Regions from separate parts of the Homo sapiens genome. Here all the other regions are linked to region 1. Evidence: promoter capture Hi-C in human tissues and cell types (Jung and others, 2019). All regions are on one chromosome and are shown on one strand. Each heading gives the region's core, a stretch centred on a gene start or on the middle of the fragment in contact. The rest is flanking DNA. Distances are from core to core; before and after follow the strand shown. Region 1 holds the start of EPHA7 (EPH receptor A7). Region 2 has its middle 150 kb from the start of TSG1. Region 3 overlaps LOC105377897 (a long non-coding RNA gene). Region 4 has its middle 310 kb from the start of LINC02531. Region 5 has its middle 340 kb from the start of EPHA7. Region 6 has its middle 310 kb from the start of EPHA7. Region 7 has its middle 290 kb from the start of EPHA7.

Evidence for each region. Contacts are between HindIII fragments. The study calls those that stand out against the background at their distance.
Region 2: a fragment that was not itself captured here is called in contact with the fragment with the promoter of EPHA7 in region 1 in 1 of the 25 tissues and cell types used here (dorsolateral prefrontal cortex).
Region 3: a fragment that was not itself captured here is called in contact with the fragment with the promoter of EPHA7 in region 1 in 1 of the 25 tissues and cell types used here (mesenchymal stem cells).
Region 4: a contact is called between a fragment that was not itself captured here and the fragment with the promoter of EPHA7 in region 1, in 1 of the 25 tissues and cell types used here (mesenchymal stem cells).
Region 5: a fragment that was not itself captured here is called in contact with the fragment with the promoter of EPHA7 in region 1 in 2 of the 25 tissues and cell types used here (mesenchymal stem cells and mesendoderm cells).
Region 6: a fragment that was not itself captured here is called in contact with the fragment with the promoter of EPHA7 in region 1 in 1 of the 25 tissues and cell types used here (mesendoderm cells).
Region 7: a fragment that was not itself captured here is called in contact with the fragment with the promoter of EPHA7 in region 1 in 3 of the 25 tissues and cell types used here (H1 embryonic stem cells, heart right ventricle and mesendoderm cells).

The regions. Positions count from the first base shown.
Region 1 is chr6:93,417,658-93,421,402 of GRCh38, reverse strand. EPHA7 (EPH receptor A7) reads left to right here and starts at 1,844. Exons shown (of 17, transcript NM_004440.4): 1 at 1,844-2,158. The coding sequence starts at 2,062. RefSeq lists a silencer at 1,597-1,796. The HindIII fragment of the contact is 11,378 bases long and covers 1-3,745 here.
Region 2 is chr6:93,853,841-93,857,585 of GRCh38, reverse strand. No RefSeq gene overlaps it. Among named protein-coding and RNA genes, the nearest start is that of TSG1, 150 kb to the right of the region's middle. RefSeq lists an enhancer at 3,089-3,589. The HindIII fragment of the contact is 3,274 bases long and covers 1-3,220 here.
Region 3 is chr6:92,981,078-92,984,822 of GRCh38, reverse strand. It overlaps LOC105377897 (a long non-coding RNA gene), which reads right to left. Exons shown (of 5, transcript XR_942787.2): 3 at 3,426-3,569. Among named protein-coding and RNA genes, the nearest start is that of LINC02531, 260 kb to the right of the region's middle. The HindIII fragment of the contact is 6,274 bases long and covers 1-3,745 here.
Region 4 is chr6:93,034,982-93,038,726 of GRCh38, reverse strand. No RefSeq gene overlaps it. Among named protein-coding and RNA genes, the nearest start is that of LINC02531, 310 kb to the right of the region's middle. The HindIII fragment of the contact is 8,389 bases long and covers 1-3,745 here.
Region 5 is chr6:93,076,196-93,079,940 of GRCh38, reverse strand. No RefSeq gene overlaps it. Among named protein-coding and RNA genes, the nearest start is that of EPHA7, 340 kb to the left of the region's middle. The HindIII fragment of the contact is 7,607 bases long and covers 1-3,745 here.
Region 6 is chr6:93,109,309-93,113,053 of GRCh38, reverse strand. No RefSeq gene overlaps it. Among named protein-coding and RNA genes, the nearest start is that of EPHA7, 310 kb to the left of the region's middle. The HindIII fragment of the contact is 3,561 bases long and covers 1-3,443 here.
Region 7 is chr6:93,129,179-93,132,923 of GRCh38, reverse strand. No RefSeq gene overlaps it. Among named protein-coding and RNA genes, the nearest start is that of EPHA7, 290 kb to the left of the region's middle. The HindIII fragment of the contact is 5,337 bases long and covers 1-3,745 here.

The DNA.
Region 1 (3,745 bases), core at 595-3,094:
TTCTGTGAGTTCTAAAGACTAAGTGCAGGGATTTATGTTTTTAACTCTTATGTTTTAGTTTACAAGTTTCATCCTTAAATCATCTATTTGTGTAAATAAAGCTTCATCTCCTCTATAACAAGTGTGTTCTCCCCATATTTTTTTTTGTCTCTTTCTAAGGTTAATCTATTACGCATTTACATTTTCTATGCATCCTTTAAGGGACACTGAAGATGCTTTTTGATACACTTTCTAAAATATTAAATAGGCATAATGGCTAGGAATATGTAACATTGAAGAAATGTTTCAGAAACTACAGAATCAAAGAGGTTTAAAGAATAAATTTCATATCTCTCTTCCATGTTATTTTATTAGGCAAATAAAAACTACAGGAGACAATTTAACATAAAATACAAATAAATATCTGGGGGTTGTCATCTTAGAGAACTCCCTACTATAAAAAGCAGAAACAACTCAATTTACTTTATATTTCCAGATAGAAAGGTTGGAAAAAGTTTGGAGCCTTATGTGAGATCAAACTTTGGATCTATCGGAAATAAAAGGAAATCATAAATGACTGAGAAATATTTTTAAAGGAAGAAATTATAGGACAAAAAAAGAAATTCATCTTAAACATGTGATCAAGTTACTCTGTGTGACCTTTGAAATTGAAGATTTGGCAATTAAAATTTTAAAGTTCTTCCTCTTATTACCTACCTCTTGAATACAAAGTGTCCGAAACTGCCTAATGGAAAACAGATTTCTCTACGCAGCCTTCCTTGCCGTTCGGGTTGAATGAATTCAACTGGAGATATTGGTTATGACTTTTTTTATTCTTAGTTTCTCTTTGAAAGATAAGCATTGAATAATTCCTGAAAATGGTAAATACTTGCGAAGAGAAAGGTCTTGCTTTATGAATTTAATACGTAGTGGCATTCTTTAAAATTCAGTGTAATTTATGCAGCGAAATGGAAAACTATCAAAGTGGAGGCAATCCAAGGAAAACCTTAGAAAATGATAAACGCGTAAAAAAACGATACGCAACCATCAGAAGGTTCTCTCCTAATGTCTCACTTCGCTCAACAAACTATGGTGAAAAGACAGGGCGGAGGAGAAGGGGCGCTTAAAACAAAAGACTTCCTTTCCCACTCCCTTTTCCTCTGTTTCTTTTGCCAGAGCTTGTTGCAAACTCTTGGAAACATTGTTTAAACATAATACACTTGGTTACTTTATTCTTTCAGGGATTGTGGTGGGTGGTACCTAAAACTGACGGCTCTTGGAGTAACAGAAAAAGAGAAGTAGAAACTTTTCAAAAAGGCAAAAAACAAAGTTACCCAGCCCGCGGAGGTTCTAACAACAAAAAAGTAAAACACACTTTACTTAAAGGCACAGCTCATTTCACTGTCCGGGCTCCGTGCTTGGTAGCTGAGAGAAGGCTTGCTTCGCCTCTGGTTTCTAAAAGATCGCGCGGAGTACAGCTATAGAAAAGAGTGTAAGTTGGGAGCGTTATTCTCGGATTTATTCTGCTACGCGAAAGCTGCGGTTGCTAAAAGCAGAGCGTCCAAAGCAGCACACACCTCGGCTACCATCCTCGTTCTCCTCTGAACATCCAGCGCGAGCTCAGAACCTGGAGGGAATCCTGGACCAGCAACCTGACTCCGCTCGGCACCGATTGGCTCCTGCCTCGGACCCCGCCCCCGTGGCCGGGGCGGCCATTTCGCCGGGACCCGCCCCTTGGCCCTGGGAATCGCCTCCTGGCAGGCCGGCTGTGCCTGCCACTCAGCCCGAGTGGCGGAGGCTCTCAGCTCGGAGCCCCGCCCCCTCCCCCCCTAATTGATATTATTGGAGTGTGGAGCAAGCGGCCGGTCTGCAGTCGGAGACTTGCAGGCAGCAAACACGGTGCGAGCGAACAGGAGTGGGGGGGAAATTAAAAAAAGCTAAACGTGGAGCAGCCGATCGGGGACCGAGAAGGGGAATCGATGCAAGGAGCACAATAAAACAAAAGCTACTTCGGAACAAACAGCATTTAAAAATCCACGACTCAAGATAACTGAAACCTAAAATAAAACCTGCTCATGCACCATGGTTTTTCAAACTCGGTACCCTTCATGGATTATTTTATGCTACATCTGGCTGCTCCGCTTTGCACACACAGGGGAGGCGCAGGCTGCGAAGGAAGGTAAGGTGATGGGAAAGCAAAGTTTGTTCTGACTTATTTATTTAGATGTCTACCTGCACAAGCCAGCTCGTCCGCGGCGCTGCCGGCCGCGCCTCCGGCGCCGGGCGACCCTCCCCCGCCGGCTCCCCGCCCCCTCACCGCTGAGGCCGCTCCTGGCGGACCAGCGAGCGCGAACCAGGGCTGTTCCGAGCCGCCTACAGCCCTGTGCCCGGAGCCGTCCATCCGACGGGTGCGGGATTTCTGGCGCGGGCAGTCTGGAGGGCGTGAGCAGCAACGGGGGTGGGGTGGGGTTGGAGGAACTGCCGGCGAGCTTATTTCTTAGTACCTCAGGCGGGTCACATCTCTCTCTAGCTCGGTCTTCCTTGTCTCCTTATTCGCCTTCTGTGGGAGCTGCGGCCAGAGTTGGGTTGGAGACTGGGAAATGCAGCCCCTACCGTCTCCGCCAGCCCGCCGGCGAGTGGCGGGAGCCCGGAGCCTTCCCAGAGGGACCGAGACTTCGATGAGCTCGGAAAGCTCGGGTTACTAATGAAGTGCTCACTGCGTCGGAGGCGGCGGCGCGGTCCTGCGGTTGGCGCTCGGCCGCCAGCACGGAACAATAACGCCGCGGAGGTGAAGCGCGGCGTGCGGCGCGCGACCCGAGGGCCGGGGATGTCTCCATTCAGCGCGCGCTGCGCGTCGGGCCCAGCGGTCATGGGGGCAGCGGCAGCCCAGCGGGCTTGGTCGGGCCGTGGAGGCAGGGGGCGGGCTGGAGCTGTGCAATTTGTAAGGATGCCGCCTGGGCGACTCAAAGTCCCCAATTATTTGCCCCATAGTGCAGCAATTGAGGAATCCGAGTGCCCAATCCTTGCCAAAGACCTGAACCCTGAGGGTTGGTTCTGGTAGGAGAAGGCAGGTTTTATTTGGCAAGCTGTTACAGATACGCCTGTATATGGTTATGTTTTCCTTCTTTGAACCTTTGACAGAAGGTAAAATACCTTTCGGTGCCTGTAGTTGGAGCTGGGGAAAAATAAACCCTGTCAATGGAAGTCTCTTGCTTTTGAGCAGTGTCACAATCCCATCCCCAACCCCCCTCATCCCGTCGCCCCCCTGGTCTTTCAGGCTGTGTATCTAAGTTTCATTTTTCGATCTGTTAAAAGCAGAAGAGAAATAATTACTTATTCCTGATGTGTAGAGGGAGAGGAATCTGTTATGAAATTTAGGTCATGGTGGTTATCGGGCGGGGTGTTGAGGGGACTTACATATAGGTCCTTGATTCATCTATTTCTGAAAACTTAGTGCACCTTTTCTTTATTCTCATCGTGCACTCCTCTTAGTTCGCTCAAGCCCCCCTCAAACCCGGCGCCAAATTCTAGTCCTTCTTTCAGCCTGACCTTCTGACCCCACTTTCCACATCTGCAACCTGTATAGATGCTGAACCCATTCAGAGAACCCCGTGCCTCCAAGCTGGCGGTTACGCGTTTGCAGAAGGACGGACATCTGCTAGAAACGCACGCTCATCCCCTCCAAAACCACATTTCTACTCCCCTGACGTTAGCGATCAGAAACCTTCAGCCCTGGCATACTGTGATTCCTCTGGAATAGCGGACC
Region 2 (3,745 bases), core at 334-2,833, 440 kb before region 1:
AGCATTACCCACACATGTTTAAACATGATATTAGGTTATTCTTAAGTAATTGCAAACATCATTATTCCCAGGTGACCCTATTCACAAGTTATTAGTAAGTATCATATGTTAGCCCAAGTGTCTTTTTATATAAAAGTGTTTTTTAATAAGAAATTTGGAAATTGACACTTAGAGATTTATTAGGGTGTCCTCTGGGGAACCGCATGTGTAAAGAAATGAAGGAAGAATAATTGAGTATATGGATAGTTCCAACACTGGGGACTCTGGAGCTAAAACAGCCCTTCAGAGATGTCCTCAGTTAAAGTAGGGGAGCAAGCCTTTGTACTCATCATCAACCAGTCATATTATATGACCTGTTCCTTGAGAAAGTGTGAGACCCCAGGTGAGGCAGTTCATTTTGGCCAAGGGCAATTCCCAGCAAAAGATTATGTGTATGCTGTCAGTATGCACATTCTAAAAAGCTTTAGGAATGAGTTCCTTTATTCTCTAAGGGGATCCTGTGCATCATCCACAATAATATTTATTAAAAGTATTATTCAAAAATATCATCAGAAACACAAACCAAGCTTTTTTTCGAAGAGGGCAGATTGGAGGCATTGTTAGCATGTCTCTCCTACTTGGAAAGATGAAATCTTGTGTAGAGATCCACATTGTGAATGTTTTTCCAAGAAATTATACAGGAATGTAACAGGAAAATAGGAAAGAAACCACAGACCCTTTGAAAGAAGCAGTTAACAGCAGCCTACAGAGGGAACCAGAGGAAAAATTCCCCAGAGAAGACAGTGAACCTGCTAACATACCCAGCACATCACTACTACAACCAGCATCTGAGAAAGTCATTATACAAAAATTCTCTGTAACCAAGGAACTCATATAGAGTCATTACCACTGAAAGAAACTAGAGGCGAAACTAGATGATAATAAACTATAAAGTCACAACCTCATGGGAAAAAATAAAAACCCAATTGAATAAAAAATATGATGGGTGCACCAAAATCTCAGAAATCACCACTAAAGAACTAAAGGACTAATGAATGAATGAACGAATGAATAAATAATTATAAGAGAGAGTGTATTTGTTTCTTCTCACGCTGCTAATAAAGACATACCCAAGACTGGATAATTTATAAAAGAAAAAGTTTTAATAGACTTACAGTTTAGCATGGCTGGGGAGGCCTCAGGAAACTTACAATCATGGTGGAAGGGGAAGCAAACACATCCTTCTTCACTTAATGACAGGAAGGAGAAATGTCAAACAAAAAGGGAGAAACCCCTTATAAAATTATCAGATATCCTGAAAACTCTTCACTAACACGAGAAAAGCTGTATGGGGGTAACCACCCCCATGATTCAATTACCTCCCACCAGGTCCCTCTCACAACATGTGGGGATTATGGAAACTACAATTTGTGATGAAATTTGGGTGGGGACACAGCCAAACCATAGCAAATAGTCCACTCAGATGAGAAAGAACCAGAAAAATAATTCTGGCAATACAAAAAAACACAGATCTATAACACCCCCAAAATATTACAATAACTCTCCAGCAGTGGATCACATCCAAGATGAAATCTTTAAATATCAAATAATTCAAAAGGTTGATTTCACAACCAACCTTTCTCTTGTATGTCCTAGTTATGTCAAAGACGTACAAGAGAAAGGTGAAAACCAACATATATAATATTTCTTAAAAACTCAGGATATGAATTAAAAATCTTCTGATAGATAATTTAATGAGAAACCAAACCAAACTTGTGGATATGAGAAATGCATTTAGGAAACTACAAAATGCGGTAGAAGATTTTAACAATAAGCTAGACCAAGTAGAAGAAAGATTTTAGAGCTTGAAGAAAAGGCTTTCAAACTAACCCAATAAGACAAAAAGAAGAAAGGCTTAAAAGAAATGAATGAAGTCTCCAAGAAATATGGAATATGTAAAATGGTTAACCTAAGAATTATAGATTTTCTTCAAGGAAAAGAAAACATGCCAAAAGAAAAAGCAAAAAGTTTGGAAAACCCATTTGAGAGAATAATTGAGAGAAATTTCTCTGGCCTTGCTAGAGATTAAAACATCCAAATATGAGAAGCTAAAGAACTCTTTGGAGATGCATAGTAAAAAGGACGTCATCAATGCATATATAGTTATCAGGCTATCTAAGGTCAACATGAAGGAGAGAATTTAAAGAGCAGTGATAAAAAGACATCGGGTAACCTATAAAGAAAACCTATCAGACTAACAGCAAACTCCTCAGCAGAATCCTTACAGACCAAAGGGATTGAAGTCCTATCTTCAGTCTCCTTAAACAGAATAACTGTCAGTCAAGAATTTTCTATACAACAAAACATAAGTGAAAGAGAAATAAAGTATTTCTCAGACATGCAAATGCTGAGGAAATTTGTCAATACTAGACCAGCCTTATAATAAATGTTAAAAGGAACTCTAAATCTTGAAACTAAAGGTCAATACACACCAGAATAGAAATGCCTGAAAGCACAAAAATTCACAGTGCTTATAAAACAATAACACAATGCAGAAAACAAACTCACTAGTAACAAGACAATGACTGGAAGAGTACCTCACATCTCAATATTAGCATTGAATATGAATGGTCTCTATGATCCACTTAAAAGATACAGATGGATAAATGGATAAAAATATCACAAACTAGATATCTTCTTTCTTCAGGAGATACACCTAATGTAAGTATTCTTATAGACTCAAGATTAAGGGGTAGAAAAAGATATTTCATACAAATAGAAAGTAGTAACTATTCTTACATTAGATAAAACAGACTTTCAAGAAACAACAGTTTTTTAAAAAGACAAAGTCATATAATGATAAAAGGATGAAGTGAACAAGAAAATATAACAATCCTATATATATATCCACCCAACTCTGGAGCTCTCAGATTCATAAAGCACTTACTACTAAACCTAAGAATACAGATAGCAACACAGTAATAGTGAGGTAATTTAACACTCCACTGACAAACTAGACGGATCATTGAGGCAGAAAGTCAACAAGGAAATACTGAATTTAAATTGCACTCTAGAAGAAATAGACCTAATATTTACAGAACATTCTACCTAAGAACTGTAGAAGATACATTCTTCTCACCAGCAGATAAAACAGTATCTAAGATAGACCATATGAGAGCCCACAAAATATGTCCCAATATATTTCTAAAAATTGAAATTATATCACATATCTTCTCAAACAGCAGAATAAAACTAGAAACCAATTCCAAAAGGAACCCTCGAAACTATACAAATCCATGGAAATTAAACAATCAACTTCTGAATGACTTTTGTGTTAACGATGAAATCAATATGGAAATCAAAACATTTTTCAAAATGAATGATAACAGTGACACAAGTTACCAAAATCTCTGGGATAAAGACAAAGCAATGCCGAGAGGATAGTGTATAGTGTTAAATGCCTACATCAAAAAGTCTGAAAGTGGCCGGGCGCTGTGGCTCACGTCTGTAATCCCAGCCCTTTGGGAGGCCGAGACAGGCGGATCACAAGGTCAGGAAATCGAGACCATCCTGGCTAACATGGTGAAACCCCTCTCTACTAAAAATACAAAAAATTAGCCGGGCGTGGTGGTGGGCGCCTGCCGTCCCAGCTAAGGGGCAGGTGGGGGCGGGGGGAGGCAGGAGAATGGCTTCAACCCGGGAGGTGGAGCTTGCAGTAAGCCGAAATCGCGCCACTGCACTCCAGCCTGGGCAACTGAGAGAGACT
Region 3 (3,745 bases), core at 925-3,424, 440 kb after region 1:
TTCTCAACCAGCTTTCTGCCAGTGGAAGACTGGAAATGCAAAAATTATTTTGTGAGTTAATCAGTTACTGTATCTTTTAGTCTTGTCTGATGGTTCTTTTTGACCAGGCAGTTCTCTTAAGAGCTTGAGTCAGTTTTTTTTTTGTTTGTTTTTTGTTTTTTTTATATTATTATGATTATTATTTTTATTTTTATTTATTTATTTTTTTATTATACTTTAAGTTTTAGGGTACATGTGCACATTGTGCAGGTTAGTTACATATGTATACATGTGCCATGCTGGTGCACTGCACCCACTAACTCGTCATCTAGCATTAGGTATATCTCCCAATGCTATCCCTCCCCCCTACCCCCACCCCACAACAGTCCCCAGAGTGTGATATTCCCCTTCCTGTGTCCATGTGATCTCTTTGTTCAATTCCCACCTATGAGTGAGAATATGCGGTGTTTGGTTTTTTGTTCTTGCGATAGTTTACTGAGAATGATGTTTTCCAATTTCATCCATGTCCCTACAAAGGACATGAACTCATCATTTTTTATGGCTGCATAGTATTCCATGGTGTATATGTGCCACATTTTCTTAATCCAGTCTATCATTGTTGGACATTGGGGTTGGTTCCAAGTCTTTGCTATTGTGAATAATGCCGCAATAAACATACGTGTGCATGTGTCTTTATAGCAGCATGATTTATAGTCCTTTGGGTATATACCCAGTAATGGGATGGCTGGGTCAAATGGTATTTCCAGTTCTAGATCCCTGAGGAATCGCCACACTGACTTCCACAATGGTTGAACTAGTTTACAGTCCCATCAACAGTGTAAAAGTGTTCCTATTTCTCCACGTCCTCTCCAGCACCTGTTGTTTCCTGACTTTTTAATGATTGCCATTCTAACTGGTGTGAGATGGTATCTCATTGTGGTTTTGATTTGCATTTCTCTAATGGCACTGGTACCAAAACAGAGATATAGATCAATGGAACAGAACAGAGCCCTCAGAAATAACGCCGCATATCTACAACTATCTGATCTTTGACAAACCTGAGAAAAACAAGCAATGGGGAAAGGATTCCCTATTTAATAAATGGTGCTGGGAAAACTGGCTAGCCATATGTAGAAAGCTGAAACTGGATCCCTTCCTTACACCTTATACAAAAATCAATTCAAGATAGATTAAAGACTTAAACGTTAGACCTAAAACCATAAAAACCCTAGAAGAAAACCTAGGCATTACCATTCAGGACATAGGCATGGGCAAGGACTTCATGTCTAAAACACGAAAAGCAATGGCAACAAAAGCCAAAATTGATAAATGGGATCTAATTAAACTAAAGAGCTTCTGCACAGCAGAAGAAACTACCGTCAGAGTGAACAGGCAACCTACAAAATGGGAGAAAATTTTCGCAACCTACTCATCTGACAAAGGGCTAATATCCAGAATCTACAATGAACTCAAACAAATTTACAAGAAAAAAACAAAGAAACCCATCAAAAAGTGGGCGAAGGACATGAACAGACATTTCTCAAAAGAAGACATTTATGCAGCCAAAAAACACATGAGAAAATGCTCATCATCACGAGTCAGTTTTTTATCTATTTGGTTACAATCAACTCTCTATTTGAATAATCCAAATCCACATTTTTTAGTAAAACAAGTCTCTCAGTCTTTCTCTCTCTCGATGTATTTTCTGCTGGTTTGAGTCTATCAGTCTTCTCACAATAGTTATACTTTTAGTGTCTTTTTGGAGTTATTTGAACCAACTGAAAAATATTAGTTTCTAGATTCAGAGAGTTTTAAAAAAACATTTATTTTGTCCCTTTCTAAAAAAGGGAGTTGTAAACATACCTTGATTTGTTTTCCAATTTTAGGGAAACTAAGTTATAATCAGCCATAGTTTATCAAAGGCCTTCTTAGTTAAACGCTTTACTTATTGGAAATGATATCATTTGCATCTTCTAGCCTTACACATCCTGGAATTTCAGGACTTTCTCAATTGCCTTCCAAGCATGTCTGCAGCCTGCCCAAGTTTATTCTGTGTGCATTTCATTTTGTAGTACCTTGTCAAATGCAACCAACTCATGCTGCTATTAAAATCCTATTTTCCCCCTTCTACAATCAAAGCCAAAATGTACATTATCTGCTAAGATATAACAGATGATAGGTTCATCAATTGTTTTGCTACTGCAAACATAGGTCAGTATATTTCCAACCTTCATTAACAGTTTTCTCACTGTCCACTATCTGACACCCTAAAGCCAATATTTTTTATTTTTTGTTGGGGAAGCATTACACTTTTGGGTTCTACTTTCTATATAATCAGCTTAGCTAAATCAGGCTGTGGTAATAAATGACACCCCAAATCTGAGTGGCTTAATAACAACCACGTAACTCTTACCCATGCTATTTGTCCACCATGGGTCAGTTTAGCTCTTTACTCCAGAGTGCAGAATAATGGAGCATCCTTTATCTTTGATATGGGCTAGTGGAATAGTGGGTTAACCAATCATTCTCAAAGTTTCTGAAGGGAAGTGGCACATTCCACTTTCTCTCATATTTCATTGGCCACATCAATAGGGTGAGATGAATATTCTTTCGTCAGGAGGAAATTCCAAAAGAGGCAGTTTCAAATATTTGGGATAACAGGACTAGAAGATCACTAAAAGTCCTCCCCACACCATCCGTTTTATTTCATGCTCTCTTTCTGGGAAAATCCTTCACCCTATTCTCTTTGTTCAATAAGATAGGTTCGACATATAGTGTCATACTGTATGTGAGTGCATTTGATATTAAAAAAACAGTCATATCAATTTACTAGTAATGCAACATCCCATTAGTAAATAAAGAGCTAGAAAAGTAAATGAAATTAATATTTGTTTTATTCTTTTTTTCATCAACTTTATAGGCCCAAAAAGACTAGGTAGATTTATATTTTCAATATGTTTGAAAAAGGCAAATATGATTCATGCATTTTGTTAAGAAAAATATAAAGGGAAAAAATACATATAAAAAGACAATATGAACCAATTACGTATTTCATCAAACCAAATAGAAAGCAATTTATGATTTTATATAAATATTTGTATCAAAACTATTTTTATCACTTAAATTGTGAGAGATGACACAGCATGGTGTAAATTTTGTATTTAGAATCACAGTGATGTAGAAATAAATTCTAGCTTCATTTTTATTAGCTTTGCACTTTGGGCAAATTACTTGTGAAAACACCATAAACCACTATACAAATTGGAGTTGGAGAAAGGGATAAGAATCCTGTTAAATTTATTTTGTTTTTCTAACTAACCATTTAGCTCACTGTACATTCTTATTGGGACACTATCTTTGAGCGTCACCATCCCATGTTTCCCAGAAGTGGATGCAGTCTAAAGAATTTTCTACATTAGTCTTACATAGAACTGGAATCTACTCACCTTCTGAGTGTTAGCATCACCTTTGAAGTTTATTTCTTAAATATCCTGTAGGTGAGGCAGTTCCATGATTTTGAAGGCACCATTGCTAATTTGGAGACCTTCCCAGAGCTCACTGGGAAGGATGACGATCTCATGCTCTCAGGCCTAAATTTGATCAAAAGGGACAACATTTCGATGCTAAGCTTACAAATCCCTCAGTGTATTTATAAATCCCTCACATACAGTTTACATATCAGGGAATTCACCAGCTATAGGAGTGCAAATTTTGGATAAGTTCTAGCAACCTTCACCTTAAAGACACAAAAAACAAAAAAACAAAA
Region 4 (3,745 bases), core at 656-3,155, 380 kb after region 1:
TGACCTGTAAAGCTAACCTAGAGAAATATTAATATCATTATAGATAACATGTTTATTCTTCATCTGAATGTGCTGCCACATAATAAACAGGTGGCCCCATAAGTCTTTTTTTATCTGGCCTTTATGCAGGCTTTTTAAAGAAATAACTAAGGATTGGAAAAAAATTTCATGATGTCACGTCCACAGAATAGTTTTCCTGATAAATGGAGTAGAAAGACTGAAAAAATGGAAGCACTACAGAGAAAAGCTATCAAACCATCCTTGGTCTTTGAGAAACTATCCCTTAGCTAGTGTCTTACAGCATGAGAGAGGGATTTCTTAACTGCTCAAAGTTAAACTGCAACGTGAAATGGGAAGCTGTTGCAGCCTGGCCAGGCAGTTCAGTTTGCTTTTCACACTTGTAGCACCAACTTCTTTCCAGTGATTCTTAGCCTTGTCAGATATTGTTTTAAGTGGCTCCATGGGAACATGAAGGAAACTTGGGCAACTCTAGGGAGAGAGTTTGTGCAGGAGCCTTGTCACATGAGTCCACTAAATGTTAGGGGAACCTGAGCTATGCTAGGCACCACCTTGCCTGACAATTCTTCTGAAAATCCTGCTGGAAAATTCATCACTGATTTATTATCTGAGCACTAAAAGAAGTAGCTGAATAGTATGTAAGGGCCAAACTTTATAAAAAGTAGGTATTTTTGAGCATTAGGTTTTTTTCCCCCTAAGATGGTGTATAAGAGGCTTTTAGTGTGCCTTAGCCATTTGGAAATAGCAAGATAGTGCATGAAGATCAACTCTGTGAGCTTTAGTTCAACAAAGAAAACAGAATCCACTGGAACCATGAACTACATTCCAGATTAAAGGGAGAAGAATGTGGGGAAACAGCCCCTGCGAATACATCTGCTTGATAAAGGCAGATCTCCAGGCATTTGGAGCACACACTCACCTGGATCAGCAACCTGAACCACCCCACCCTTCCTGTGCAGAGACTGTGGTGCAGTGGGGCCCTCTCCACTCTATGCCCAGGCATTCAGAGCACCGAGTTGCCCAGATTGGCAGCTTCTGTTACCCTACCCTTCTTGTGCAGTGATCTGGGTGCATGGGGGCCCTCTTTGCTTTTGACCCAGTCAGATCTCCAGGCACTCAGAGCGCCCATATATCTGCACCAGTACCCTAAGCCAGCCCACCCTTTCTATGTAGAGACTGTGGTGCAGTGGGGCTCTCTCTACCCCATGCCCAGGCAGGTCTCCAGGCAATAGGAACATTTGTTTGCCTGAATTAGCACCCTGAGCCACCACTGCATTTCTGTGAGGAGATTGTTCAGTGGGACCCTCTACACTCCATGCCCAAGCAGATCTTCAGGCACCCACTCTTCTGAATTAGTAGTTTAGGCAGCACCCATCCCCTTGCAGAGAGCTTGAGGCTAAGGAGGTTTCCTAGTTCCACACCTAGGCACATCTCTGAACACTTGTTAGTTACCCAATGGATTCTCCCCCAGTGCTGGTGCATGTGCCCGCAACCAGAATACTTGTAGTGGTCCTGCCTGGTATGACCCTGCCCATCTTGCCCCTGTACATTCTGGGCTGAGCAGGGTACTCAGGCCACTGTGTACTCCATAGATCAGCCCAATGTCTGAGGCAACAGAGAATATCTCCTGGTAAACAAGGATTAAGTATTAATACACACCCAGTAACAGGCATGTTGGCCATAGCTGACTCTTACCCATAAGTGCCATCTACTGGCTTGTAGGTTGAATGACACAGCCCATTATGAAACCTGCTGAAAAAAGTGTGTATGTCTACAGAAGCATTCTCTACAGTCACATTCACAAGGGAGGTGGGAAAGGGGAAAAAAAAAAAACCCAATAATATAATAGGAAAATAAAATAGTCCTACTCATACAAAAATAATAGAAAGTAGAAATGCCAGTGTCTCCAGATGAGAAGGAACCCACACAAGATTTTCTTGAAAAAACTGAATGTAGTGACACTACCAAAGCCTCTCATTATCTCTCCACCAATGGTCCATAATCAAAATGGAAATTCAGAAATGACAGATAAATAACTCAAAGCATGGATTGCAAGGAAGCTCAATGAGATCCAGTACAAAGTTGAAAATCAACACAAAGAAACTTCTAAATCAATCCAGGAAATGAAGGAACAGATAAACATCTTAAAAAATAAGTCAGCCAAGCTTCTGATATTGAAAAACTCACTTAAAACTGCCAAAATACAATTGAGATTTTTATCAATAGACTGGATTAAGCAGAAGAGAGAATTTCAAGTTTGAAGAACAATCTTTTGAACTAACCCAGTCAGACAAAAATAAAGAGAAAATAATTTTTAAAAATCTTCAAGGAGTATAAGATTATATAAAGCAATCAAACCTCCAAATTATTGGCATTCTTGAGAGAGGAGAAAAAATAAACAACCAAAAAGATATAGTTGAGGAAATAATTCAATTAAATTTCCCTAGTCTTGCTAAAGAGGGAACATCCAGATACAAGAAATCCAGAGAAGACCCACAAGATACTTTACAAAATGAATATCACCAAGGCATATAGTCACCAGACTATCCAAGGTCAATGCTAATGAAAAAACTTAAAGACAGCTAGAGAAAAAGGTCAGATCACATACAATAGGAACCTCTTCAGGTTAACAGTGAACTTCTCAACAGAAACCTTACAAGACAGCAGAGATTGGTGGCCTATTTTCAGCATTATTAAAGAAAAGAAATTCCAACCAACAATTTTATACCCTGCCTTCATAAGTGAAGAAGAAATAAAATGTTTTCCAGACAAGCAAGTGCTAAGGGAATTTGTTACCACTAGACCTGCCTTGTAAGGCACATTTAGGGAGTTCTAGACATGAACACAAAGGAACAAAACTTGTTACCACAAAAACATGTCAATTACATAGCCCACAGACTCTAAAAAAGCAACCAGAAACTACAAAGCAAATAGAAACTACAAAGTGACCAACTAATGATATAGTGATAGAATCAAAACTTCACATATCAAAATAACCTTGAACTTAAACAGTCTAAAAGCCCTATTTAAATGGCATAGAGTTGCAAGTTGTATTTTAAAAAAGACTAACACATCTCCTGTCTCTATTGATTGGAATAGTTTCAGAAGGAATGGTACCAGCTCCTCCTTGTACCTCTGGTAGAATTTGGCTGTGAATCCATCTGGTCCTAGACTTTTTTTGGTTGGTAAGCTATTAATTATTGCCTCAATTTCAGAGCCTGTTATTGGTCTATTCAGGGATTCAACTTCTTCCTGGTTTAGTTTTGGGAGGGTGTATGTGTCAAGGAATTTATCCATTTCTTCTAGATTTTCTAGTTTATTTGCATAGAGGTGTTTATAGTATTCTCTGATGTTAGTTTATATTTCTGTGGGATCGGTGTTGATAACCCCTTTATCATTTTTTTATTGCATCTATTTGATTCTTCTCTCTTTTCTTCTTTACTAGTCTTGCTAGCAGTCTATCAATTTTGTTGATCTTTTCAAAAATCCAGCTCCTGGATTCATTGATTTTTTTGAAGGGTTTTTTGTGTCTCTATCTCCTTCAGTTCTGCTCTGATCTTAGTTATTTCTTGCCTTCTGCTAGCTTTTGAATGTGTTTGCTCTTGCTTCTCTAGTTCTTTTAATTGTGATGTTAGGGTGTCAATTTTAGATCTTTCCTGCTTTCTCTTGCTGGCATTTAATGCTATAAATTTCCTTCTACACACTGCTTTGAATGTGTCCCAGAGAT
Region 5 (3,745 bases), core at 775-3,274, 340 kb after region 1:
CAGCTCAGAAGAGAGAAATATTTTACTTCTTACCTAAGATTCCCTTGATCTTTGAAGTTGGTTTTAAAACTAGATCTCTTTGGGAATGTGATAAAGAAAGGTATTTTATTGAAATGTGAGGCTTCTTTTTTTCTGACATATTATTACAATATGCTGATTTATGTAATTATTGGAATATCACTGTGATGTTACATTCCATATAAGATATAATGGAAAATGTGAATAGACATCAGTTGGGATAGGAAATAGAGCAGACAGTGTACTTTAGCTTTAGGTACAGAGTGATCTTGCAGTTGATCTAATGTAGATCAATCACATAATGATTTAAATCATTTTTGGGTGGCCAAGTATTTTCCATTATATGTTCCCCTAAGAGAACACCCAGAAGAGTAGTAGTTGGCATTAGGAGCATAAACGAGGAAACATGAGAGTAGCTGTCCGTTTAGCTTGTTGTTCTACATCCCATCCCTGAGGGCAATAGGCACTCGTTGGGAAATAACAGTCTAAATGGGATAATAGCATAATCAAGGGTTAAAGTGAGGTATTCTAGTGAGATACATTTAATTCTTTTTTCCTAACAGTTCTTTAACATTTAGAGAGACATACATTAGCATAACACTACTGGTTTCTCCCCAGCCACTCCATCATCCCTTCTCTGGGGTGGAAGAGAGACCTACCAGACCTAACAGGAATCTAAGAGAAAGTGGCCAGGTCCCTCCTCTCTTTTTTGTTAGGAGTGAGCTGTCTAAAGAACACATGCTGTGCTATAAGACACACTCAGCCCCTTCAGTGGCAATGGGTTCCAGGCTCACAGTGCTATTTTGTGGTTTGGGGAAGGAGGTGGTATTCAGAGATAGGAGAAGCAAGACTAACTCCAATGCAGTTAGGAAGCTCAATAATGCTGCATATATAAACTCTAACTCTAATCTCAGCTTTATCATCGATGGAAAGTTTGTTTTGTTTTGCCACCTTGTTTACTTTCTTTCCCAATTTGCTTCAAGTCCAGGTGGAGAAAAAGAATATTATTTTGGGGACTCCCAAACCTCCAATATTATATATATAATATTGAAGATGTTACCAATATTGCACTTATGGTCAGTACAAAGCTAAGAGAGGAAGCCTGTTTCTTAGATTTGACATTAACAAATAATTTCTCCTGCCAAATCTACTAAGTGAATTAGTGCCAAATTTAGAAATGTATCTATTAGGAGAGAAGGAGACTACTTAGTAATTGGTAATAAAATGGCAAAATTGTGGGCGTCAAGATAAGCCAAAATAAGCCATATTTCATTTAATGGCTTTCTTTTCAATACCTGAAAAAGGCATATTATGAAAAAGTTGATTCCCTATAATTAATTTTTTAAAGCAAGACTGAAAAACAGAAAAACATAATAGAATATTCTAGCACCACTACTACCCCACCCTATCTCCTACCCTTTCTCTTTTCCCCCATCTCCCATCACACATATAATATAATGTTACCTAATGTTTATCAACATGTCCAGAACAATACACTGTTTGTAGAATAGCATATGCTAAGTTTGTAGAATACAATATGCTAAGTTTGTAGAATACAATATGCTAAGTTTGTAGAATAGCAATATGCTAAGTTTGTAGAATACAATATGCTAAGAATTGTAGTTATCACAATTCTTCAAATAGGGACCATTCATTTTTCAGATGAGGCACCTGACGCTTAGAAAGGTTAAATAAGTAGTCTGTAGTCCCAAATGTAGTGATGAGCAGATCCGGGATTCAAACCAAGGTTGGTCTGAGTCCAAAGCCTAGACAGTGAGGCCCTAAACCATCTGATTTTTGGATTATATTGCCAATGAAATTAACATGTGCCATGAGTGCAGCTGAGATTTCTTGTGCTACTTGTTATGTTATTTTCTAATAATTCTTTTCATTTGCATAATATGTTACTGCAGAGGAAGGTCAGCCCCTTTTGATAAAAGCATAGATATCCACATAATATTCCAATTCTTATTTCTTCTTGCCTTATGAAGGGTGAACATTTCATGAATACTACTTTATGGATGTGATTTTTTTAAGCTATAGGAAAGCAAAGTGGCAGTCTGCAGGAGTTTATACATTCCCTATCTCTTTTCCAGAATAAATCAAAGACAATCGAGTAGTGTGACACAAGATCTGTTCACAAGGATGTAATTGTGTAAAATTATTATATAAAAACATCTTCTGCAAAAAAGAAAAATAATTATATAAAACAAAGTTTTCTAAAGTTACTATAAAAGAAGTAGAATAAAATCAGGCACAACCAGCATGACACAGATAACTTGGGAGCTCTCCCATTTATTCCATAAACAAATTTTAATAGAAGACCAGGGTTACATTAAAAATTTAACTTCACAAGTTTTAGTCTTTCTTGAAAATGCATTTGCTTATCATATGCAGACTAATGGTTTGCATGAAAAATGCAGTTTGTAACGTATTATGGAATACCACTAAATGCTTTATGTTCTTAAAAATATTTTCCTTTAATGATACAGTCCAGCATACATAATTTAAGCTAGAGGCCTACACTAAGTGTGTACAGTTAATTTTGATTTAGGTTTATCACCTTACGGAGGACACATAACATTTTTATTTTGAATCAAAGAAAATTTTTAAAAATTATCTTGTATGTTGTAATACATATCTGACACGTATTTCATTTTGTGCAGTGTTTGGGTGGAGGAAATTCTGCCATTTATTACCTCCATTGCTTATCATAAATCAGAAACCAGGTGCCATTAAATATTCTCAGCAATACTTTGAGGTATGTATTATTTATCCTAATTCATAGAAAATAAAGCTTTCGACTCAGAGAGGTTACATAAAATGGGCAATGTCACATTGCTAGTTAGCATCCGAGAGGGTTCAAGGGGTGCAAATCAAGCACAGCAGTGTATGTTTTTATTCACAAGTCTATTTTACTTCCCAACATGCTAAGAATTGTATCTTATCAACCTTTTCTTGGTAGTGTACGGTTGGTATTGCCTTCATTTTTTTATCATAGAATTTCAATTCTTATGAGGTTTTTCCTTAAGTATAATTTCTTTTTCAGCCTAATAGTCTTTCAGTTCTATCTCCAGAATCTTTGTAACTACTAAACTGGCTTAAGGACTTAAATCTAGATGAGATTAAAGATTAAGAAGCTTGAGAATAACAAGATAAACATTTAATCAGTTTTGTCTTCAGACTGAAATCATGTAAAGCTTAAGCTTGCAGAGAAATGGGCAAGAACAATATGGCAACTGCTTTAGGCCTTTTATGAGTGTAGAGTTATTTAGTATCACAATAATTAAGCCATTTTCTTAGGCTACAATTCAGTCTCTCAGAATTTCTGTATGTATAAATTTCTACATACCCCTAAAGTCAGTGAACTAAATCTCTTCAAGATAAAGAATGATGACCCATTTTTCAATTCCCTTGATTCTATAGGGCTGTACTGTAGGTATGAAAACATTTACCTTATCATTATCCATGAGTTTTCTTTTTCTTTATTAATTGCTTTCTTCTTAAAGGAAAACACACCAATTCAGTTATAAAGTCAATGCTAGAGCTCTGGTTGTTTTATGAGAACTCTGGACCTACTTTTTGTTTGCAGTTTTAAATGAAAAAAATACACAAACTGTCCATATGTTCTCATGAAAAAATAATTATATCAATACAGGGGATTATCTTAGTATTTATGTGTGTCACAATGTCTGTATAGAGGAGGAAAGCCTTTTCCTCTACCCTA
Region 6 (3,745 bases), core at 414-2,913, 310 kb after region 1:
GTATGTATGTGAATTCTACTATTCCAATGAAAAACAAGGAGTATCATCATATACAGCTACAATATCTACTAATGTTTACAGTAAAACTAAATATATATAGGGCTTGAAATAGATAAGCATGGTCACATTCATTCACCTTGAATGATATCAATATTTAGAGGGAAAAAGCATTTATTAAGTCACTCAAGGACGGGATAAGACTTCTCCAAACGACTACACATTAGAGGTTTTTTAGGGTAATTCTTATCGGAAAGTTCTGAATGTCTCTCTCTCTCTCTCCTTCTCATATTTCAGGTTCAATAAAAAAATACTTAAAAAGAATGCAAAGAAAGGAGGGACTGAGAAAGTCAAAATTAGCCAGTAAATGTGATTGATTGAGGCTTATGTACTTTTATAAAAGTATTTAATATCAAGACTGAAACAGGTATCACTAATAAAAATAGCAAATAAGTTCATTCTATCCCATGGCTAGTTTCACCATGCTGTTGAATTCAGTCTATTTCCTGTTATTTATCAGCTACTTCTAAAGAATAGATGTCAACTAGTTTGCCCTAGGCTTACATTTTTTTAAATATAAAAAGTGTTTGTTTCCATAAAATAAAACGTTGCAAGTGCAAAATTCCACCATCAAATATGTGCCTCAGAATCAACTAATTAAGCTTTGTAAAAATGTACCAAATTGGGAAATCAATCCTCTCTTATCTGCACACAGAACATAACTCTAGAGAGCTGGTGTTGAGCCCAAGATTCTGTATTTGTATATGCTTTACAGGTAATTCTGATGGGAACATCCAATTAAGAACATATCCATGAGGTATGCCAAGGGACCACCTATAAAAATATGGAAATCTGGCCCAGATCAGGTGAGTTAGTGCATAGCTGCACAATGCGCCCCATTTATTCCTTGTTTTAAAATCTGAGTTGTTCCATAATCGTTTTATACTTGTGATAAATGATTATTTCAGAATCCTGAACTCAGCTGAACATTACTAATCTGTTTTCGTGTGAATGGCATATATGTCAATATGCATTGTAAACTGCAAAGTGATTTATAAATGTTGTGGTTGTTATTCCATTACAAACAACTGTGGTGTACAATCTGAGGAGGCAGGACTAATGTCTGAAAATGTGTGATGTCAGACTTCCCGCACCCAGCTCATGTAGAATTAGGATGTTATTTGGAATAGGAAATATGGAGAAAGCAATCACTTCACAATGCTTCACATTTTGCTATAACATTAAAGATGCATTTTTAATGTTGCCTGGTAGTAAATACTCAAAAAGCCACACAGAACTTGGAGAAAGTAGTGATCTTGTGTCATAATAGAAGGAATGCCACTTTCTAGTGGTGGACATTGGCTGTTTAAAAAGTAGAATAAATTCTTACCAAAGCCTCTGGCATGAAATTGTAGAAGATGAAGAATATCTCTATGTGTACTATTTGCACAAATAATTTAAAATGAATACGTAAGCAGATCCATCAATGAGATAGAGACGGGTCAATCTGAGCATGACGATGAGGTAAGGGACACAACAATGGTGATTAGGAAGATTTTCTAGATAGTAAGTGGTCAATGTGGATGAAGACTGTTACAGCTTCTGTTTCACTAATTCTATAAAACTTAGCCACATTGTTTGCTGAGAGAAATGCAGCTGCAAAACATTTATAATACTTTTCTTTTAAAAAAGGTGAAATGAAGCTGGGTATGGTGGCTCACGCCTGTAATCCCAGCACTTCGGGAGGTCAGGGTGGGCGGATTGATCACCTGAGGTCAGGAGTTCGAGACCAGCTGGGCCACCGTGGTGAAACCCCATCTCTACTAAAAATACAAAAAAAGTAGCCAGGCATGGTGGTGGATGCCTGTAATCCCAGCTACTTGGGAGGCTAAGGCAGGAGAATCGCTTGAACTTGTGAGGCAGAAGTTGCAGTGAGGCAAGATTGCGCCGTTGCACTCCAGCATGGGCAACCAGAGTGAAACTCCGTCTCAAAAAATAAAATAAATAAAATAAAAAAGGTGAAATGACCTAATGTTCAGCAAATATGAAAGATACAATGAAATGTCTGTGGTTACTGCTAGATTTCCCATTTAATCCCATGTCTCTTACTATTTTAATTTGAATCCATAACTGTATCTCTGGCACATGGTGATAACTGATAATTGTGGCCCAGTGTTCTTTAGGAAACGCTAAGTTATGGTGAATATTCCAAAATGCAACTAAGACAATTCTATGTTCTGGTTCTGGTCTCACAGTATTTTTAATTATTATTTTCACGTACTTTTATGAACTTTCAGCTTCTGCCAATATATAACAACAATTAAAAATTTTTTATTGCTACTAATGGCTTTTGATGTAATGCTGTTGCCAAGCTTAACAGGGATCACATGTTTTCCAACTGCTTTGTATGAAGCTTTTTTATATGGCCAAAACAAGAGACTGGAAAAAACAAAAGGAGTGATTTCATTTTTAGAATGACTCTAAAATGGATATTGGTATTAGTGAGCATGGGCTTAATTAAGAGTGAACAGTTGTTTGAGTTTAATTTATTAATATATTAATTAATAAACATTTGTTGAATACTTACTTCGTGCATGGAATTATGTTATCTGATTCTTTTTATTATAGTCCAGGGTTGACACTGACTCAACTGTGTCATTAGCTATACATCACTAGTCTCCAATTCCTGTGCTCTAACACTAGTCACACTCCCCCCTTGTTCATTTAGTAAATTTTTACCTCCATTATTTCCAGGTACCTCATCAATAAATCAATAAGTATTTTGATAGAAGATATTTAATTTGAGATAGGTAGAAGTGAATGAATAGATATTCTGATTTCAAGAAGTCAATCTTGTTGAATAGAGAAGGAATAAAAAGAAGATGGTATATAATTAAATGCTAAATTCAGTAGGGGACATGAAAGTTTAAAATCAGAGTGAGTAACATATATTAAAAACATTAAGAAAGGTTCTATACCAGCCACTCTCTGCTTTGAAGTCTTCTTTTTCTTCTCGTTTATGCTAGTATCAAGACTGCTCTTCTTTTCCTTCCTCTGTAACTTTTCTTCACTTGCTAGCTATTCCTGTGCTCTGTTATAATGTAGGAGTTAAAGGAACAGGGAGAATGCACTGGTATAGAGAAGGAGTCCATCGTCAGCTGTCCCCATTCAGTATTATACAATCATAGGTAATACATGATTTGTACATCACGTCAACTTAAGAGAGTCGGGGGAAAGGCAGAGTTTAGACCTGACCACCATCTGCTGAAAAGTTGACCCTAGGCTGAGTGAGTACTGGGGGACCACTCTGTTAGACAAACACTTAGTTGAATATACCACATTGTATGATATTTAATCAGATGGCAGAAAGGAATTATAAAACAAATTGAAATTTACTAGATGTATGCAAAGTAGCATTAACTAAGTTACAGATATTTTTTCCATCCTGATATTGTTATTGGCTGAAAAGTAGTATTCAATGAGAAAAGTATAGCAACTGAATTTAAAGACAATTGAATTCTGGCTCTGATTATATGGCTTTGATCTTTCATAGCCCCTATCAATGAAAAGTAAAGTAGAAGTTAAAGAGAAAAATCAGACTCATTTGATTTATTCTTACCAACAGAAAGCTAACATATCTTTCCCAAGGAAGACACAAAGTAATGTTTTTTTAGTTCAGAGAATTTACAGTAATCCAGGTTAGAGTTACCATCTTTAGCCAAATAACAAACACAAAAAGCACACTCAC
Region 7 (3,745 bases), core at 878-3,377, 290 kb after region 1:
TCAAACTTAAATGTCAGTTATTCCTAAGATTTTCCAGGCAATATATATTTGTGCAAACACCTGGCAAAATTCTAGATATAACATCTGGTAGGTGTGGGTGAAATTCATTAGACTAAATCTTCTAAGCATAGATGTTTGCCAAAGCTTTGATATGACAAGCACTTATTCCCGATGGCAGCCATTTATTCTTTGCCAGTTCATAAGTGCTTCCTTCTAGCAGAGATTGCATTTCCGCTGGCATTTGAAACACTGGCTACCACATCAGTATATATTAGAATACATGTGCAGAGAGATTACTATCAATCCAAAACAACCAAATGGGAGTTGCAGTTTGCAGAAGATTATTGAGCTAAAAGTCAGCAGTGTACTCATGGCTTTAGCGAGAAAGTTTTAGCAAGGGAAGGAAGTACGTGCACATGTCTGAAGGGCCACTTCTTGAGTATTTGATTAGGGACAAAAATAGGATTCCTAAAAAGTCTTTTTAATGGGAAAGATAGGAGTCAGGCTAGTTTGATAAAGAAATACTTCTGCTTTCTACTTTGGGGTCTCCCAATAAGCAACTGGAAAATGTTTTGCATTTTTCTTCAAGTGGACATGTAAGCAAATGGTTATCATGGAAGCTATTTGCAGATATGACTTAGGTGCTAGAAAGAAGAGTTGACAAGGAAATGATTTGCTTTAAAGTGATCCTAAACAATGAGTACAACATACCTGTTGTTAAGTTGCCTTTCTTTCTCAGTATATGTCTTGAAGAAATTGAGACTCTACTCGTAAAGTAATACATGCTGATATGATTCTTTATTTGGTAAGAGTAGTGTAATGAAATCTGTAGCAGATGGGAACAAAGAAAGTATACATATACATACATACATATATATATGTACACATAAACACACATACATTCTAATGTTAAACCATAAAAAAAACTTCTATGACTAGCCAAATGATAACAATAATTAAACTTCAGGATGTATGCCATCAATGACCAAGTTTGAGTCAGTCATGTATTATTCCTAAATTTACTCTGAAAGCATATAAAACCAATTTGTCTCAATTCTTATAAAATTTTCATATTTGTGTATACTCACCAAATAATTCCAGTAAAAGAGTTCTTTTTGGCTCTATGTGATTTATTCAGTTACTTAAAAAAGTCTTTACAAAAAAATTTGTAATATTTTTACATATATGCACGTTTTGTTTTGATCCAAAGTCTACAGTTATGTTAAAGGTAAAGGATAAAGTATTTCATGTGTGGGACAATGTTGGATTTTGAATTCAAATGATGCCTGCTGTTGTCACTAGATATGCAATAGCTAGTTAAATAAGATTTGGCTTGACACAAAATGAAGTACAATGTATTAAAAATTATCTTACAGTCACTAGGGAGATTTTGTTTGTATCCAATGCCAGCCATGTCAGTAAAACAACTATCAACTTAGTAAAAATGCCATTCAAATTTGATGTCTGTCCCAAATTATCTAACAGATTTAATTCAACCAAGTAGAATTTAATTACATATTGATAATGTACAGATTAAAATTCTCACAAATTAACACAAGCATATAAATTTGCTACAATGGTGAAAATCAGGAAGATCCTAGAAATTCATATTTAAACTCTAATACTGGAAGAAATAATTTATCAAACCTTATTTTCACACTGGCCTGGTTGACTTTACCTAGAAATAGCTATTTCATGTACCCAACTCTTAAGAATCTGCAGAAGTTGTAGAGAGCCACTCAAGGGTTTTTGAGCACCAAAGGTCATGTGGTTATTGCATTAGTTACAAAGTTAAAGAAGCACTTTCACAAAGGTCAGGATTTTGTTTAGTGGAGAATTTCATTTGATGAATAATAGATGTTGGTCATTCTTCATTATGAACTCAGAGCAATTTCAAATTTCTATCACCGTTTCCAATGAGTAGCATATTCTGGAATACATTCTACAGAAAAAAATATAATAAATAGTCTTAGATTAAGGGTTCTAATACTAGACACTAGAGCATCTCAAAAAAAAAAAAAAAAGATCCTAGAGAAATGTAATATGGATATGGCAGAGTGAGAAACCTATTTATCTGTATTTGGTTATCTCTCTCTCTCTCTCTCTCTCTCTCTCTCTCTCACACTCTCTCTCTCTCTCTATATGTATATATATAAAATATATATTTATTATTATACTTTAAGTTTTAGGGTACATGTGCACAATGTGCAGGTTAGTTACATATGTATACATGTGCCATGCTGGTGTGCTGCACCTGTTAACTCGTCATTTAGCATTAGTTATATCTCCTAATGCTATCCCTCCCCCCTCCCTATATATATATTTTTTTAATTACTGAGAATTCAAATGTGAAGTATCCCCCAAAAGAGAAAGTAACTCACATCATTTATATACCGTTTTTCAATACTTTATTGACCAAAAGTAGTTTTCAATTTCTGTCTTCATTATCTCAAACTCCCTGCACTACAAAATTAAAACTAATTGTCAGATAGTGGGAAATTTGAAATACTTCTGAGTTCAAGAGGTCTCCCTCTAATCCTTCTTCAGTTGGAAGGTACATATTACCAGAGGTTGCTCTTTCATTTGATAAATTACTTATGCCATGGGGTTGTGACTTCCTTGACTCTTGCTAATTATGTTTTATATAATTAATGTTCTATTATATAATCAGTTTATTATATAACAACTCTAGCACCTTTCAGCATATAAATTTGCCTCCAATAGTTCCAAGAAAAATAAAGATATGTGATTTGAACTGTATCAATTTATTACCTCCGTAGCTAACATTCTTCGTCTATTGCCTCCCTCTTTTCTCTTCCAGCCTCAGATGAAGAAATTTTTAATTTCCCATTCAAGACTCAGACCTCCACCTGCATTTTGACTTAGTTTCCCATCAGTTTTCTTTCATTTGTGAGGTATCCCTATCTTCCCAGTTTTTGACATCTCATTCTGTATTTGCCCCTTTCTCCAACCTTATAAATAATCTGATATTGTTTTTACTTTAAATGATAACAGTAAGCAAAGTAAGAACCATCACCATCACCATTAAAAAGAACAACAACAATGACAAAATTTCAACCCTTATCCTGACCCTTTTTCTGACCTTCCATCCAAGGTCTAATCTTTCTATCTCCATTTTTCTCATTGTCTGGTTAATTTTGAACCTATTAATATCTGGCTTATATCTCTTTGACTTTACTGAGACTTTGCCGCATTTAACTTAGAGAAACTATTTTGCATTCTTTTCTTGAGGATACTAATTCAATTCCATAACTTCAACTATCCCCTCTATGATGATAATTACAAAATCTTAATCTTCAAAGCCAAACCTACACAGCCAACTATTTGTGACTATCTCCAACTGGATGATCTAAAAGTACTCAAAAATAATACATTTACATGACTGAATTCATCTTCTTTTGTATCAAACTTGCTTCCCTACCTGAAATGTCTATGTTGGTCCACAGCCTCATTTTTTACTCAGTATACCAGTTAAAAAACTGAGCCTTAGACTAAACAATTTATTTCCTCTTACATCCTACATCAAATTAGCGTTCAAATCTTGAAAATATTACATCTTTAGCACATCTCAAACCACACTTTTCCCATCAGTCTTATATATTGATGCCCAAGTTGTCTTTCTAAAATGTTCGTATCTCTTCAGGTTACTCTCGCCTTGGAACCATTCAGTAACTCCTCTACCTACTAGAAAAAGCACACAAAGTATGCTATTTATGATGTTCTC